2 separate regions of the Homo sapiens genome follow, and region 1 is linked to region 2. Evidence: promoter capture Hi-C in human tissues and cell types (Jung and others, 2019). All regions are on one chromosome and are shown on one strand. The core of a region is centred on a gene start or on the middle of the fragment in contact, and the rest is flanking DNA. Distances in the headings are between cores, read along the strand shown.

Region 1 (5,604 bases), core at 1,245-3,744, 1.1 Mb before region 2:
GGAGGGATGCGTGGGGTGCTGGGGTGCGGGAGGGGGCGGGAGTGCTCAGAAGCGTGCAGCATACGGGAGGATTCTGAGCCAGCGGGGGACTGGGAGATGTGCGGAGCCAGGGGAGGCAGGGAGACCAAAGAGGGCTCCGAAGGGTAATGTTAGTAATCAAAATAAATACTTTTATGGATTTTTTTATTTTTTAAGATAAAGTCTGGCTGTGTCGCCCAAGCTGGAGTGCGGTGGCAAGATCATAGCTCACTGTAACCTCGAACTCCTGGGCTCAAGCGTTTTTATGCAATATTTTTAAACAATCAAAATTAATCCAAAAGATCCACAGTTAACCAAAGTTAACATTTTAACCAAAGACGGGATCCAACAGGGCCAGGATTAGGGGGAGCCCAGCGAGGCGGATAGGATCCTGTCTTCAGTGACTTTTTTTTTTTTTTTGAGATGGAGTCTCGCTCTGTCGCCCAGGCTGGAGTGCAGTGGCGTGATCTCGGCTCACTGCAAGCTCCGCCTCCCGGGTTCACACCATTCTCCTGCCTCAGCCTCCCGAGTAGCTGGGACTACAGGCGCCCGCCACCACACCAGGCTAATTTTTTGTATTTTTAGTAGAGACGGGGTTTCACCGTGTTGGCCAGGATGGTCTCGATCTCCTGACCTCGTGATCCGCCCGCCTGGGCCTCCCAAAGTGCTGGGATTACAGGCATGAGCCATCGCGCCCGGCCTTCAGTTACATTTTTGATACCGAGTTCATCATGGGTTTTTTTTTTTTTGGCATTAATTTTCATTTTAAAAAATACTGTATTATGATATTATGTATCTTGATTTTGGCGTTTTGGGCACCCCCTTAAATTTTGGGCCTGAGTAGCAGGAGGAGCCTGACCCTCTTCTGGGGCTGTCTTCCAAGTGAGTGCCAATTTTATCCCCATTTTACAGAAGGGGGAAATTAGGGCAAGAGGGCAGGTGACTCGCCCAAGGTCACACAGACATAGTTTGCAAGTTGCAGGGCTAAGACTTGAACCCAAGTTGTTTGCACATAGAGTCTAGGCAATGAAATCTCACATCTGCAGTGATGGGAATGCGCTGTGATCTACCGTGCCAATACAGTAGCCACTGGCCACATGTGGCTACCAAGCCCTTGAAATGCGGCCAGTGTGAATGAGAAACTAAATGTTTCATTTTCTTTTATTTTATTTTATTTTTTTTTTTGAGACGGAGTCTCACTCTGTCGCCCAGGTTAGAGTGCAGTGGCACGATCTCGCCTCACTGCCAGCTTTGCCTCCCAGGTTCATGCCATTCTCCTGCCTCAGCCTCCCGAGAAGCTGGGACTACAGGCGCTCGCCACCATGTCCTGCTAATTTTTTGTATTTTTAGTAGAGATGGGGTTTCACTGTGTTAGCCAGGACGGTCGCGATCTCCTGACCTCGTGATCCGCCCGCTTCGGCCTCCCAAAGTGCTGGGATTACAGGCGTGGCCACTGCGCCCGGCAAATGTTTCATTTTCAAAGTGTTAATTCATTTAACTTTTTTTTTTTTTTTTTTTTTGAGACGGAGTTTCACTCCTGTTGCCCAGGCTGGAGTGCAGTGGCGCGATCTTGGCTCGCTGCAATCTCCGCCTCCTGGGTTCAAGTGATTCTCCTGTGTCCACTTCCTGAGTAGCTGGGATGACAGGCATGTGCCACCATGCCCAGCTAATTTTTTTGTATTTTTAGTAGAGATGGGGTTTCACTATGTTGTTCAGGCTAGTCTTGAACCCCCGACCTCAGGTGATCTGCCTGCCTCAGCCTCCCAAAGTGCTGGAATTTCAGGCGTGAGCCACCATGCCCGGTGCTCTTAGCTACCGTATTGAACCACACAGATCTACAGATTTCCACTTGTTCCTGCAGGGCAGGGTCTTTCAGGCGCATCCCTTCCCCACCTTGTCCTTTGTTTGCAGGATTGGAGAAGCGGTTAAGTAAAGGGCTTGTGCTCAAGGCAGGCTGTCCGAGTTTAAACCCCAGCTGCATGGCTTCCTAGCGGGGTGACCACGGCCAAGTTACTTCACTGCTTGAATCTCAGTTTCTTCCTCAGCTATAGACTGTGGATGATCCGCGTATCTCCCTTGCAGAGCTGTCAAAAGGACTCAGGGAGACCATGGTTGTGCAAAGCACTTAGTGTAATGTCTAGCATGGAATAAGCACTCTAATAATTATTGATGTCAGAGTCACTGATGTCTGTGCCTCAATTTCACTCATCTGAGAAATGGGCAAAATTATAGATCTACGTCATGGAGCTCATGCAGATTTCCTTCCCTCCTTTCTCCCTTCCTCCCTTCTTCTCTCTCTCTCTTTTTTTTTTTTTTTTAACAGAGTCTTTCTCTGTTGCCCAGGCTGGAGTGCAGTGGTGCGATCTCAGCTCACTGCAACCTCCGCCTCCCAGGTTCAAGCAGTTCTCCTGCCTCAGCCTCCCGAGTAGCTGGGATTACAGGCGCCTGCCACCACACCTATTATTATTATTATTATTATTATTATTATTATTATTATTATTATTATTATTTTGAGACAGAGTCTCACTCTGTTGCCCAGGCTGGAGTGCAGTGGCGCAATCTCGGCTCACTGCAAGCTCTGCCTCCTGGGTTCACGCCATTCTCCTGCCTCAGCCTCCCGAGTAGCTGGGACCATAGGTGCCTACCACCACGCCTGGCTAATTTTTTGTATTGTTAGTAAAGACAGGGTTTCACCGTGTTAGCCAGGATGGTCTCGATCTCCTGACCTCGTGATCTGCCCGCCTCAGCCTCCCAAAGTGCTGGGATTACAGGCGTCAGCCATTGCAGCCAGCCTAATCATGCTTAACTTTACTAAATACTGCTGGATTGTCTTTATCAAACAGCTCTGTCCAGTGGGGTTGCCTGTCTTCCCACATCCTCACTCACACTGGATAATACCCACCTTTCTCATTCTCCTCTGTACTTGCCATTGTTTTAATTTGTATTTTCTGGTTCCTGATGAGCGTGGGCATTTCTAAATACACTCAGCCATTTGGGCTTCCTTTTCTGGGAATCACCTGTTTTCCTCTTTCTCATCTAGGGTTTCCTATCATTTTCCTATTTGTCACAGTGACTTATGCCATCTAGGCTGGGGTTTCTCAACCTCGGTACTATTGTAATTTAGGGCTGGGTGGTTCTTTGTTATGGGGAATGTCGTGTGCATTGTGAATGTTTATCACCACCCCGGCCTCTACCGATCAGGTGCCAATGGGTAGCCTCTCACTTCCTGCCATGACAATCCAAAATATCTTCAGATATTGCCAAATTCCCCTTGGGGGCAAAATCGACCCTAGTTGATGACCAGCGGTCTAGATAATAACCTCTTGGTTCTGTTTTTGTCTTTATTTGAGACAAGGTCTCGCTCTGGCACCCAGGCTGGAATACAGTGGCACAACCACAGCCTCGAGCACCCAGGCTCAAGGGATCCTCCTGCCTCAGCCTCCCAAGCAGCTGGGACCACACGTGCGTACCACCACACCCAGCTAATGTTCATATCTTGGGGGGCTCACCATGTTGCCCAGGCTGCTCTCAAACTCCCGAGCTTAAGCAATCCTCCCAACTCGGCCTCCCAAAGTGCTGTGATTACAGGCATGAGCCACCATGCTCAGCCGATAACCCTTTGTTTTAGGGTATATTTCTGCTGAGTCTTTCTGGGGTAAGGGTTCCAGTGGGGAGTCTGGAATCTGTCTCTTTACCCCAGGACAAATACCGTCCCAGTCTCCTCACCCCAGCCACGTGTCTCACCTGTGTCTCCATGGACTCTCAGAGTTGGAGGACTGCCTGGGCTCCTGGTGGTGCCAGCCCCAAGAGTTGGTCCTAGTTTGCCTGCGGTAGGGGTCCCCTCAGCCAGGCCCCTTCCTGATGGTGTGTCCCACGTCCAGGGAAGCTTGTAACCATCTTTGCTGCCTAGAGAGATATGGGGAAGAGGATTGAGTCTTCCAACTTCCCTTTGAGTTTGACTCCCCGTCTCTCTCCTCCTGGGCCAGCCCCAGTTCAGGCATCATCCCGTCTCAACTGCACCGCCACTGCAGCCCTACCTGACCTCGTGGAGACCTTCTCCATTCAGCTGGGATGTTTTTGGCTACCAACGACGGAAACGGTCACTAAACTAGCACATAAAATGAAGGGCATTTGGGCCTGGCGCCGTGGCTCAAGCTTGTAATCCCAGCACTTTGGGAGGCTGAGGCAGGCAGATCACTTGAGGTCAGGAGCTCAAGACCAGCCTGGCCAACATGGAGAAACCCCATCTGCACTAAATATACAAAAAATTAGCTGGGTATGGTGGCACACGCCTATAATCCCAGCTACTCGGGAGGCTGAGACAGGAGAATCACTTGAACCTGGGAGACAGAGGTTGCAGTGAGCCAAGACTGTGCCACTGCACTCCTGCCTGGGTGACAGAGCGAGACACCGCCTCAAAAAAAAAAAAAAAGGAATTTATTATTTTAATTCCTCAAGGCTCCTGCCCTAGCGGGGGAAAAACCATAACATCTTTATTAATTCACTGCCTGGAACATCTCTATAATACTATTTTTCCTTTTTTTTTTTTTTGGCCAAATGCACTTAATCTCTATATAATAGCAATTTTATATAACATATAAATGTATAATATATATACATATATGTATGCCATTTTATTTAGGGAGAATAGAATGATAATTCAGTCCTAGCTTTATACAAACAACAGCTTTCTTTTCTTTTCTTTTTTTTTTTTTTTGAGACCAAGTCTCACTCTGCCACCCAGGATGGAGTACAGTGGCGCAATATCGGCTCACTGCAAGCTCTGCCTCCCGGGGTCAAGTGATTCTCCTGCCTCAGCCTCCCAAAGTGAGCTACAGGTGTGAGCCACCGTGCCCGGCCTCAACAACAGCTTCCTTGAGATACAGGTCACGTATCATGCAATTCATCAGCTTGAAATTGCAACTGAGGGGGTTTACCCACTCACAAGCTTGCGTGACCATCGCCACAATCAAAATTGAGAACACTTTCATCACCCGAACAAAACACTCCATACTCATTGCCTATCCGAATCATCAAACCAACTTCCCCTGAGACCCTGGCCCCCCACACTGATCCTGGAGGCCTCTTAAAAACTGGCAGACACCTGCCCCTTTCCACCCTAAACCCTTCCATGAGTCCCCACGGCCCACAGACACCATCTTCCTTCATAACCAGCCCCTGCCAGCTTCTCCAGCATCGTCTCGTCCTACACGATGCTCTGCTCACGCTGGACCCTGACCTTGAGTTAGGAGGGCAGGTTTGCAGTGTTTAGGGAGACATGCCTGCTTCCACAAGCAATTCCACAAGGAGGTGCTGAGAAATCCTTACCCATGAGCCCAGGGATTCATGGGTACAAGGAGTTCATAGCAGCCATATTTGTGACAGCAAAACACTGGGAACAACCACAACGCGCAGGCTTTTCACACCTCCCAGCCTCTGCCCACGCTGCCGCCCCCACCCCGAATTCCCTTCCTCTTCATTTCCTACCCAACTGAGCCCGTTAGGATGTTTTCTCATTCCAAACGCAAAACCAGGCAGAAGGGCAGTGTCCAAGACCTTGGGCAAGTTGACCGATGTCGCCTTAAG
Region 2 (5,730 bases), core at 447-2,946:
GCCGCTCGGCGACTTCCGGCACACGCTGCACGTGGGGCGCGGCGGCGACGCCTTCGGGGACACCTCGTTCCTGAGCCGCCACGGCGGCGGGCCGCCCCCCGAGCCCCGGGCGCCCCCCGCGGGGGCCCCGCGCTCCCCGCCGCCGCCCGCCGTCCCGCAGTCCGCAGCGCCCTCGCCTGCCGACCCGCTGCTGTCCTTCCACCTGGATCTGGGGCCCTCCATGCTGGACGCGGTGCTGGGCGTCATGGACGCGGCGCGCCCGGAGGCGGCTGCCGCCAAGCCCGACGCGGAACCCCGCCCCGGGACGCAGCCCCCCCAGGCCCGCTGCCGCCCCAACGCGGACCTCGAGCTGAACGACGTCATCGGCCTCTAGGTTCCCTCATTCCCCGCGCCCTTCCCGCCCGGCACCCCACTTCTGTATACATAAACGGCCAAGGTGTGTGCCCGGGCTCTGACTTTTCACTTTGCACGTGGAAAGGGATGAATGATAGGGTCCTGGCGCCTCTGAGAGCCGGATGTGTCACCCGGAGGCCTGGTCCGGGTCCGATGATTGCCCTGGGGTGGGGGTGCGGCTCCTTTAAGAGAGCCCGAGGGCGTGGCCAGGCGGTGCCCCTTGCAGAGGCGGCGGCTCCCGCAGTCCCATTCGTCAAATACTGTGCGCCACCGCCGGCCGGACGTGGTCCTGGGGCCGGGCCAGACTCAGCCACCGCGGGGCCAGCCGAGGCGGGGCTGCAGAGTGCTGCAGCCCCAGGAGTCTTTCTGGCCCTGAACGCCTCAGGTGGACTCCGACCCGGCGGAGCCGCCGTTTACTCTGGGAGCGGCTGCAGAGGGAAGTGTCTGAGAACACTTTTAGAGCAGTAGGGGCCTGGTCTCCGTGGGGGAAGGGTCCGCAGGCATCTTGGTTCTTTAAGGCCCCCGAGGGATGGGGCCGAACATGCAAATGATTTGGACTGAGGGGCCAGGTTCTCGTAAGTTTCCCAGAGGGGCGGGGCCGCAAATGTAAATCACTTGGACTGAGGGCGGGTCCAGGTTCTTTAAAGACGTCCCCTCATGGGCGGGGCACACAGGTATCACCGGGAAAGGGGCGGGGCACCACATGTAAATCACCGGGAAAGGGATGGGACACAGGTAAATCACCCGGAAAGGGGCGGGGCACCACATGTAAATCACCTTAAAACGGACAGGGCACACATGTAAATCACTTGGGGAGAGGCACACACGTAAATCACCCGGAAAGAGGCAGCACAAAAGTATCACTGGGAAAGGGCCAGGGCACGCATGTAAATCACCCGGAACGGGGCGGGACACATGTAAATCACTTGAGAAGGGGAGAGGCACTCGTAAATCACCCGGAAAGGGGCGGGGCATTACATGTAAATTACCCTGAAAGGAGCGGGGAACATATGTAAATCACTTGGGAAGGGGAGAGGCACACATAAAAAAAAAAAAAAATCACCTAAAAGGGGTGGGGCACTCGTAAATCACCAGGAAAGGGGCGGGGCACCACATGTAAATCACCGGGAACGGGGCGGGGCACTACATGTAAATCACCTAAAGGTCGAGGCACACGTAATCATCCCGAAAGGGGCGGGGCATTACATGTAAATCACCCAGAAAGAGGCAGCACACATCAATCACCGGGAAAGGGGCGGGGCCAGGCTCCCAAGAGCTCCGGGAGACCGAGACTGCCGCAGCCTTTACGCAGCTTGCTTTCCTGGCGCTGGGGGAGGGCGCAGCCGGGAAGTCCCAGAGCAGCGGTGTCAGGCTCTCCACCAAGGAGGGACTGGGCCAGAGTCCTCGCGAGGGCACGCGGCGTGGTCCCCAGAGCTAGGCCGGAGCGCGGGCCGCTGACGCCACTGTCGGGTGAGGCTCGGTGCATCCAAGGGGAGCCGCCCTCCGTGCGGGGCGACCTCGTCTGCGCGGCGGGCGTGCCAGTTCCCCGCACCCATGGCAGCGGCCAGAGAGCCGGAGTTGCCGCAGGAAGCCCCCGCCACGGAACCCGCGCCCCCGCCGGCCTGCCGCTTCTTCCTGGAAGGCCGCTGCCGCTTCGGCGCCCGCTGCCGCCAGCCCCACCCTGGGGCGCCGGCGCCGCCTGGCCGCGAGGCGCAGCCGGAGGCCGGGGCCAAGAAGCCGCCGCTGCGCACAGCCGCGGACGTCATCCAGCGCATCCGCTGGGACCCGCGCCTCGACCCCGCCGACTTCTCGGTGGGCTACGTCGACCGCTTTCTGGGTGTGCGCGAGGAGCCCTTCAGCGCCTTTTGCTGGGACCAGCCGCTGGCGGCGCTCGGGCCGGGCGTGCTGGCAGTGCCCCAGCACCGCGTGCGCTTCTTCCGCTTCCGTGGCCGCCTTGTGTGGGACCGCGCCTCGCGCACCGACCTCGTCTTTGGCTCTGGCTCGGCGGCGGGACGCGGGCCCACCATCCTGGACGCACCGAACACCGAGGGCGCCCACGGGGCAGAGGGTGCCGAGTGGACACTGGCGGGGACAGGTCAGGAGGCCCAGGCTGCCCCCAAGCGAGGGAGCACAAGGCCGCTCTGCACAGGGCACCAGGAACCAGGCGTGGAGGAACCCGGAGAGCTGGAGGCGGCCCAGGAGAGGGCGCTGGGCACAGCTGCTGATTTGGGAACACTGGCCCCAAGAGGACGCCTCGCCGGAGTGACTGAGGCACTGAAGCCAACAGCAGCCACCAGGACCACATTGCTGGGGGGCAAGGAAGCACAGGCCCTGGGAGTCCCGGGGGGCTCCGCTGAGACGACAGAAGCCGAGTGGGGTCCTGCGGCCTGGCCCGAGGACAAAAGGGCCCGCCTTAGTGTTGCAGCCCCTTGCCAACCGCGCCCCACACATTTTGTGGCCCTCATGGTGACCGAGCCTGGGCTACAAGCAGAAGTGACCAAGGCCCAGGAATACCTGGTCCACGTGGCCCCACACTGCGCCAACTTCCTAGTGCCCTCTCAGAACCTACACCTGACCCTGGCCCTGCTGCGACTGGCAGGCGCTGGGGAGGAGGCCGCTGCCATTGGAGCTCTGAGACGGGCCCTCTTGGCCCCGGGGCTAAATGCACCCCCTCGGCTGAGCTTTAGAAAGCTGGTCCTCCTGGGCCCGCATGTGCTGTGTGCCCCACCCTCTCCCACACTGGAAAGCATGGCACAAGTGCTGAGCCAGAGGCTGGAAGCCGAGGGGCTGAGTACACTACAGTCTCCAGGGCAGCTGCACCCCCACCTCACCGTGGCCAAGGTGCCCCATGGTTCCCAGGTCCACCTCCCCAAGCTGGAGTTCACCCTCAGCCAGGAAGTGGGGTGCCAGCCCCTGCAGACACTCTGGCTGTGCCGTATAGGGAGGACAGGGGGGCCTTTCCAGCCCCTGGCTGAGATCCCCCTGGAGTGACACCCCCAGACCTCTGGAGGAGACAATGGATGCAAACAGCCCACACAGGAAAGACAAAGCAGGAGCGTGCACGCTCTCTCTTTCTCTCTTTAATTTTGGTTTCTCTCAAGCTTCCAAATGGTGCTCAGTGCTCCAAGGAAAGGAAGGAAGGAAGGAAAAGGAGGGGAGAGGAGGGGAAGGGGAGGCAGAGGAGGAACATCTGGAAAAAAAGCAGCCTGACAGTCCAGCTGTTTGCAAACTCATAGCACATCCTCCAGTTACATGGCAGAAGAGGGAGGGAGGGAGGGCCAAAAAGAAAAGGGAGAGGAGGAAGAAAAATAACTTAAATAAACACACACACAAAGAAAAGAGAAGGCAACATGACGTGAGCTGGTGATCCATGAAGGCAGGGAGGGAGGGGAACCGTTTTACCTGTGCTGAACCAAGGGAAGAATGCGGAGAGGGAGGGAGGGAAAGGGGAAAAAAAAATCAGAAGAAACACTGGGGGCAGAGGGAGGAGGGGACACGGAGACAACTTTATACAACTTGAGACGAGGCGGCCCGGCCGGCGTGTCCTCAGTGCGGTGTGGCGGCGGAGGATCTGGTGCTGGTGGTGCTGGCACTTCAGGGTGGGGGGCCGAGGACGGGCACAGTCTCTAAGCAGCTCCCCCACCCCAAACACGGAGGCCCCAAGGGGCTGGGAACAAGAGTCTGTGGCGAAGCAGGTGAGGCAGCGGGCGGTGGGCGGGCTTGCTGGGTGCCCCCGCCGCAGGCGGGCACGGGCTGGACGGCCTGTCTTCTTTCCACTGGCCCCCCGGCATGGGATGGGCCAGGGCGCCGGGTCGGGTACCGGAGTGCAAGCTCGAAAGAGAGAGAGAGAAAACACTGAGACAGCATTAGTGGAGTGAAAGGCGGACACAGATGAGCCTGCAGACCATGCCCCCAACCCTCCGCTGCCCATCCCCTCCTCCCCAATCCCATCCCTCTGAGGCAAAAAATAAAAACGTAGAAAAATCTCTGTACAGACTCCCCGGTGGGAAAACGGGGGCAGGGATGGTGGCTCTTCCTGGAGCGCACTCCCCACAAATAAATTTACAACCCAAGTCCACGGCTCAAAAACAGAATCCGCAAAGGCAGCGCTGGGGGCTGCAGCCCCTGCCCCCGCCCCTCCTCGCTGGGTGCTCAGAAGGCTGACAGCTGCGCCAGGCTGAGGCGGCAGTCGATGCTGGAGTTGTCCGGGCCCGTGTAGGCCAGGCCCAGGGGCTCTAGGAAGGCCCGGCAGGCGGCCTCGCCCTCGAAGGCCAGCTCGGCCTGCAGGTAGGAGACTGGCAGCGCAGGGCGGAAGCTATGGAGACAAGAGGAGAAGGTGATGAGGCGGGCGGGCGGGAGGGCAGGGGAGGGCCCCACGAGCGGGGAGGCCCCCCCATTCGGGTGCCCACAGGATTTCCTCAGCACAGTGCCTGCTGGCTCCCCACCCGCCTCCCAGCCTCCCCACCTCAGGGGCTCGGGGGGGGCCCGGGGGGGGTTAGTGACCCCAGTCCCCTGTGCCCCCCTCACCCTCACTTACCTGTGCGGGGGCCAGGGAGGAGCGGGGACGGGCAGGGAAGGGCCCAGCGGGCTCCTCCGCTGGCTGAGGGGCAGGGACCAGATGGAGGGAGCAGCACGTGGCAGGGGATGGGGATGGCGGGGCTGCCAGGGCCACCGTGGGGACCCAGCCCTCGCTGCCTCCCCTGCCCTGCGTTACAGTGTCTGGGAAGCCAGGCGCAGGGGTGCCAGCTAGCACTCACCACTACACACTGAAAGCAGTCACTTCCGGCTGCTGCTAAAACACACTACTGACTGAGCATCTAGCACGAGCCAGGTCCTCAGAGCTCCCTGAACCCTCTTCCACAGGGTGCAGCCCTACCCTTTCCACACACACAGGAACCCAGGCACCGAGTGAGGGGCACTAAGTCCTAGAACCCGCTTCTGCTCCAAAGCCAGAGCTTTCCTGGAAGCCCTGGGATCAGAGCCCACTCCGTCTCCCAGTCTCAGCTGGCAGGGCAGGGTCAGCCTCCTTGGGGGGAAGGTGCTGACACAATGAGGTCAATGACAGACTGGCGCCCCACCCACGAGGGGCACTCATGGCTATGTTCCCAACCAAGGCCAATTAGGTATCAATTAACAAGGACACTCGCCCAACCACACACCCCTGTGTAGCACAGAAGCTTGAGAGCCACCATTCATGGGGCCCATCATGGCAGCAGACTAAGCAGCCTCCTGCCTCCCCTTCCTTCTAACTTCCCAAGCTGGTCATGGAGCTCTGTGCACGGCACCCCACATCCTCGTCTGCTCCTGTGACTCCTACCCTGGCTCAGCCTCTCCCTG

Evidence for each region. Contacts are between HindIII fragments. The study calls those that stand out against the background at their distance.
Region 1: a fragment that was not itself captured here is called in contact with the fragment with the promoter of LENG9 in region 2 in 1 of the 25 tissues and cell types used here (pancreas).

The regions. Positions count from the first base shown.
Region 1 is chr19:55,511,331-55,516,934 of GRCh38, reverse strand. It overlaps SSC5D (scavenger receptor cysteine rich family member with 5 domains), which reads right to left. Exons shown (of 14, transcript NM_001144950.2): 13 at 3,763-3,924. Among named protein-coding and RNA genes, the nearest start is that of SBK2, 23 kb to the left of the region's middle. RefSeq lists a silencer at 1-8 and an enhancer at 1-29. The HindIII fragment of the contact is 4,152 bases long and covers 419-4,570 here.
Region 2 is chr19:54,459,744-54,465,473 of GRCh38, reverse strand. LENG9 (leukocyte receptor cluster member 9) reads left to right here and starts at 1,696. Exons shown (of 1, transcript NM_001301782.2): 1 at 1,696-3,742. The coding sequence starts at 1,948. The coding sequence ends at 3,384. CDC42EP5 (CDC42 effector protein 5) reads left to right here. Exons shown (of 3, transcript NM_145057.4): 3 at 1-448. The coding sequence ends at 373. It overlaps LENG8 (leukocyte receptor cluster member 8), which reads right to left. Exons shown (of 16, transcript NM_052925.4): 16 at 3,458-4,708. The coding sequence ends at 4,546. The HindIII fragment of the contact is 37,347 bases long and covers 1-4,533 here.